Linked DNA regions of Homo sapiens: region 1 is linked to region 2. The links are contacts of gene promoters, found by promoter capture Hi-C in blood cells and fetal thymus (Javierre and others, 2016). All regions are on one chromosome and are shown on one strand. Each heading gives the region's core, a stretch centred on a gene start or on the middle of the fragment in contact. The rest is flanking DNA. Distances are from core to core; before and after follow the strand shown. Region 1 holds the start of SMC6 (structural maintenance of chromosomes 6). Region 2 holds the start of PNPT1 (polyribonucleotide nucleotidyltransferase 1).

Region 1 (2,826 bases), core at 182-2,681, about 38 Mb before region 2:
ATCCACTTTTTTTCCTCTGAAATATTTTCAGTCCCTTGATTGAGTCCACGGATACAGAGGATGCACTGATAACTGTATTATTTCTTCCAACTTGCATAAGAAGAACTGAAACTTAAAGAGGTGGTACCAACCTGCTCAGAGTCACACAATTCTGGCTTTTTGTGATATAAATACACGCTTTTAGGCAATATACTAGTGGCCTCCAAACGTTTTGTACTTGCACCCATTAAGCAAAAGAAATTTGAAATACATGTTCCAACATAAAATTAATACCCTATGTTTCACGTAGAAATCAAATGAAATAAATCTAAATAGAAGTTCTAATATGTTCCCTCTCTACCCACACACCCATGGAACAAACTGCATGCCACTGTATATACTATTGTACATGTTAAAAGATCACACTGCAACCATATAAAAGTCAGGAGATTTGGGTTTTTCTTTTTTCCTTTGAATATATATTACTGAGAAGTTTGCCTTTAAAACACTGGCTTTTAATCTACTACTCGTGACATATGCAGAGTAATAAGCGCTCACAAAACTTCTGTCTTGAGGGCTCAAACACCAAATGATTGCTCTAAGAATTTTCACAGTATTACCTCAAACCCTATTGGTTCTACAACCTTTCTCTACCCTAGAGTCCTGTTTTCCGCAATTCCCAATTGGGATTCTTCTCCGGTTCATTTCTGTAAGAAATGAGGGCAGAGAAATGCCATCAGTAAACCTTTGAACACATGTTAATTTTTCTAGGTAATACAATTTGCATTTTCGTAAAACTGGGCTTTAATGACAAATCCGATTTCAGTGATCTTTGCATACACCCTTTAAACACACCAGTTGCCGCCTGCGAGATATCATCAGACTCATGCTAAGAGCCACTCCCTACCCCAGCTTTCCCCAGACCTCTCCCCGCTTTACAGTTATTCGCCACAGCCCGGGAGAGTCTGGGGACGGCCGCCTGGGAGGGGACGGCCGCCTGGGAGGGGACGGCCCGGAGCAGACGCCAGGTTTCCCGCGGCTCAGGAGACCGGTGCCGCCTCGGAGAGCGCGCGAAGGTGCCGCCGGCCGCCCGACCCGCCCGAGGAACGGACATCTCCCGCCCGGGCCCGCAAGGACGACCATGAACACCGCCGCAGCTCAGCTGACCCTGCCTCTCCCGGGTGGCTGGGGGTCGCCAGCCAAGGGGGCAGCGGGCGGAGGATGAACCCCGGAGCAAGGGAAAGCGACAGCGCGCGCCTTCACCCTACCGCCAACAAGTCGAAGTCTCCCAAAGGAACCTGATCGGCGGGGCTGCCGTGGTACGACCGGCCGCTAAGGCCACCCTGCGGGCGTCTCGACCTCGGCTGACCGCCGCTGGCCCCCTGGGAACCGCGTGCCGGCCGCAGGAGAAGGTAGATTCCCGGGAGCCCCGGCGCCCACCGCGGTACTAACCGCGCCTGCGCCCCGCCCTCCCTCCCTTCGGGCTCCGCCCGCGCCTGCGCAGTTGCGGGGTTTCGCGCCGCCGGAGTCTGAGAGGCCGGAAGTGCCCCTTAGCGGGTGGGGGAAGCTGGTAGGCACGGGCGGCTCCGCAGTGACCGGACTCGGGGGAGGTGAGTGATTTGCCTAAGTAAAAGGGAAAGATAATTGAGCGCCCCCGGCAGCTGGTCTACGCATGCGTCCGCTAGGCCGGCTGGGAGCCGGCAAGGGAAAGCCGAGCGGGCCCCATTGGGGGAAAGGGGTCAGTCACTTCCCGGAAGAGGCGGGGCCGCGCGGGCCCGGCGCTGGATTCGAAACGCTTCCTGGTGCTCCTGGGCCTGGCGGTTGAGCCCGGGGAGCTAGTCTTTGCTTGGGTAAAGAAAGAGGACTTTCCTTTTTTTTTTTCCTTTTGAGAAAATTCAGAAATTTGGAGGCACAGTAGTTAGGATTCAGGCCAAACTGGTAAATGACGAAGGGGCTTCTTCCAGAGCCAAGGAGGAAGGGTTGTCCGGGTAAGTCCCGCGGGACGTGGAGAGACGGCGCCGCCCGGGTCCTCCCACTGATTCCTTTGACCATCTGGCTTACGGACGAGCTCTTTGTTCGCTGCTCCTCCGAAAACGCCTTCAATGACTCCCTTTGAATAAAGTAGGAAGTCCGAACCGAGCCGCCAGGCCGCGACTTGGCCCCTGTTTTCCACTCGCGAGGGCCCTGCGTCACCCCGCCTCGGGAAAGCTGCGCGTTCTCCGGCCGCTTGCGCTTGGCCGAAGCTGCTGGGTCCCGCTGTGCTTCCCCCGGGCATGCGATGGGGATAATTCCCACGCCTCGCTCAAAGCCATCCCGGGAGAGCCCTCCCTGGTCCCCATAGGCACAGTTGGGTGTTCCCTTTTCCGTGTTAACCTTGTATTTCGGATATAGTTCTGTTATAGTAATTACTTTAAGGTATTGTAGTTATTTACAATCAGTCTTTCCCCCACGGTAACCTAGAGTGTAAACCCCCTAAATAAACGTCAGAAGTAATGAAGTCTTAACTTCCTTGGCTTAGGTTTCAGCGCCCTTCTCAACCCCACACTCCCGCTTCAGTCTTTACACAACCCTTCCCATGAATATGCTGACCTAACAAGTAACCTACTTTTCATACTCCAAAATCTTCTCTTCTGTGTGGGGAAAATAATGCATTGACTGCCACCTCACTCCACCTCCAAATAAATTGATGTTGAAATTCTGGCCTCCGGTAATGGAATTCTTTACATCAAAGTCACTTTTTATTTCTAAAAGTAATCACATATATATTATATTCCTACTGTGGCCCTTGCCATGGATCAACGAAAAATATGACATAGTCAAAATAGACCAAAACATCTGGCCTTGTTG
Region 2 (2,760 bases), core at 215-2,714:
GACCTGGATTCAAAATGATTTTTTTGCTTTTTGTATGAACTGGGGTCCAAATTTTTTCAAAGTACACGTAAAAAATTTAGATATATGAAGTTTGCATTAGCAATTCCATTTATTCTAAGAACGATTAAAGCAAACTTTTTTTTTAAAAAGCGGTCCCCTAAAAAAAAGTATGGGCTTTGTAAGCAAAAAACAGAAATTCAAAAACCACCTAGTCCCATAATACTAACTTTTTTATAGACTCTTAGAAAGTTATCTAACCTTTTTTGAGCCTCTGTAGTCTTAACTATAAAATGAGGGTAATAGTACCTTTACGACAGGTTTAAAAAGATTGCGAGGATCATATAACTGGCGTTCAAAAAACTGACTTTTCCTTTTCCTCCTAACCCAGGGTCATAGTGGTCACACTTTAGGCAATCAATTAGATTGGATGACATGATATCTTGTACTCCTAACTTCAAGTCATCCTTCCGTCTTAGCCTCCCAAAGTGCTGGGATTACAGGTGTGAGCGCCTGACCTTTTGCCATCTCTTTGCATCGATCTTTGCTTTTGTTTCTCTCTGTGTGTCTCCTTGCCTCTCTCCCTGTCACTGTCTCTCTCTCTCCCCTGCCTCCCTCTTGGTCTCTTTTTTTTGCTGTCTCTTTCTGATGACCTTGTTCCCATCTCTGTGCGTGTGTGGCTCTCTCCCTGTCCATCTCTTACCATCTCTGCCTTCCTCTCCCAGGTCTTAAACGAATATTTCCACAATGTCTGTGAACTGGACCTGGTGTTCAACTTCTACAAGGTAGGCTCCTGGTGAAGAGGAGGCTGAAGGAGCCCGAGGAGTGGGACGTGGGGGACCCGTGGTGCACTAGCCACCCGGAGCCTCTGCTGAGGTCTGTGTCCCAGCTCGAGGGGCATCAGAGCCCCAGCTTCCAGGGTCCGGGCCAGCATCCCGGGGGGCCTCGTCTCACCCACGTCAACTCGTTATTCCTAGGTGGAATGTTTCCCACTTAAGAGCCCAGTGGTCCCGGAAAGTAAAGAGATCGGAAGTCAGGTGGACGGACAGAGTCGGATGGAGCAAAGAAGCCCGGCACACACCAACAGAGAGAACGACATAGCGCGGGAAGGAGGGTCCGAGGAGACACATTCCAAACCCGGAAAGGGAAATTTGGAATTTAGGTTTAGGGTAAGGAGAGATTAAATAGAGCTGGGATACCGGGTTTCTACCCTGGGAGATGAATACGCTCAAGCTGGCTGGACAAGACACCTTATGACAATACAGTGAACGCACGTCACTCCTTACCTGTTGCCTAAGTCCACGGCCACAGCTCGAGACCCTGCGCTACTCCATAGTGCTCGCACTTGCAACTGGGTGAGTGCCCGATCCCGCCGTGGCAGAAGGAAAGGACCATCGCTCAGGGGCCGGAGCCGGAGGCACGAGCAGCAGTACCTGCAGGCCGCCATGACACCCGGCACGCGGTCAACGCAGGCTGTGCCCTGATTGGCTCACTCCGCAGACCGTGGGGCGGAGCCTGATGGAGTTTCGTTTCCGCGGTGCCCGAGGGACGCCGGGGTAACGGAAACCTTGGCCACCTTCTACGAAGACTAGAGAGGGTCAAACCTATCAGAACGCGATTATGTTGCAAACGATCTTTGTCTTTATGTGCCAACGAAAGGCAATTAGATAAATAAGGTTTTTGTGTGTGTACTATCGTAATTTAAAGGAGAAGTCCTAGAATAATGTAAATGTTTAATATGCAGAGTAAATTTATATTTACTTTTAATACTAGAAGTCATAGAACAACACATTATTATTATTTGGATCTGTGAACTAAGAATTAGAATTTGGGTGGTGGGCCTTGGAAAGAGATCTCCTTCTCCCCTTCTCCGCCCTGGTTTTTATTTTAAAAATTTCACATAGCAGATATGTTACTACAGCGATTTGTGTTAACCAATTTACAGTAAATTCATTTTTCATCGACTTGTAATTTTAGAAATCTTTATTGTCACTTCTGATTCATTTTCATTTCCATTGCTAATAATTAGCAATTTATATTTCTGTCCCTTTTGGTCGAACTCTTAAATGCAAAATGCCAGCTACTGTTTGAAGTAAATATTTTGTAAAATGAAAAAAAAAAGTTTTTGGGATTTGAAAAATTTTTAGAGAATGGATAAATTTCTTCCACCCCATTAATCCATTCTGTTAGAAATTCTTTATGTTTTTCCTTGAATGAACCAATGGGCATTTTCATATTATGATGTAAATTTTTTGTGTAAGGTGATAACCGCCTTACCCCAAAGAAAACCAAACAACAAAAACCCAACACTCATTCAAACACAGTTTTAAGAATTAAAAACGTTGGCTGGACGCTGTGGCTCACGCCTGTAATCCCAGCACTTTGGGAGGCCGAGGCGGGCGGATCACCTGAGTTCGAGACCAGCCTGACCAACACAGAGAAACCCCGTCTCTACTAAAAATACAAAACTAGCCGGGCATGGTGGCTTATGCCTGTAATCCCAGCTACTCGGGAGGCTGAGGCAGGGGAATCGCTTGAACCCGGGAGGCGGAGGTTGCAGTGAGCCGAGATCGCGTCATTGCAACAAGAGTGAAACTCGGTCTCAAAAAAAAAAAAAAAAAAAAAAAAAAAAAAAGTCCGGGCGCAGTGGCTCATGCCTGTAATCCCAGCACGCTGGGAGGCAGAGGCGGGTGGATCACGAGGTCAAGAGACCCAGGGCATCCTGGCCAACATGCTGAAACCGCGTCTCTACTAAAAATACAA

The links. Contacts are between HindIII fragments. The CHiCAGO score rates a contact against its expected background, and 5 or more counts as called.
Region 1: the fragment with the promoter of SMC6 here is called in contact with the fragment with the promoter of PNPT1 in region 2 in 1 of 17 cell types (naive CD8 T cells); the score reaches 6.7 in naive CD8 T cells.

What each region holds. Positions count from the first base shown.
Region 1 is chr2:17,752,379-17,755,204 of GRCh38, forward strand. It overlaps SMC6 (structural maintenance of chromosomes 6), which reads right to left and starts at 1,432. Exons shown (of 28, transcript NM_001142286.2): 1 at 1,248-1,432; 2 at 600-686. GEN1 (GEN1 Holliday junction 5' flap endonuclease) reads left to right here and starts at 1,760. Exons shown (of 14, transcript NM_001130009.3): 1 at 1,760-1,967. RefSeq lists silencers at 908-1,267, 1,408-1,547. The HindIII fragment of the contact is 9,742 bases long and covers 1-2,826 here.
Region 2 is chr2:55,692,380-55,695,139 of GRCh38, forward strand. PNPT1 (polyribonucleotide nucleotidyltransferase 1) reads right to left here and starts at 1,465. Exons shown (of 28, transcript NM_033109.5): 1 at 1,284-1,465. The coding sequence starts at 1,444. RefSeq lists a silencer at 655-714 and enhancers at 1,285-1,404, 1,415-1,474, 1,505-1,654. The HindIII fragment of the contact is 6,564 bases long and covers 1-2,760 here.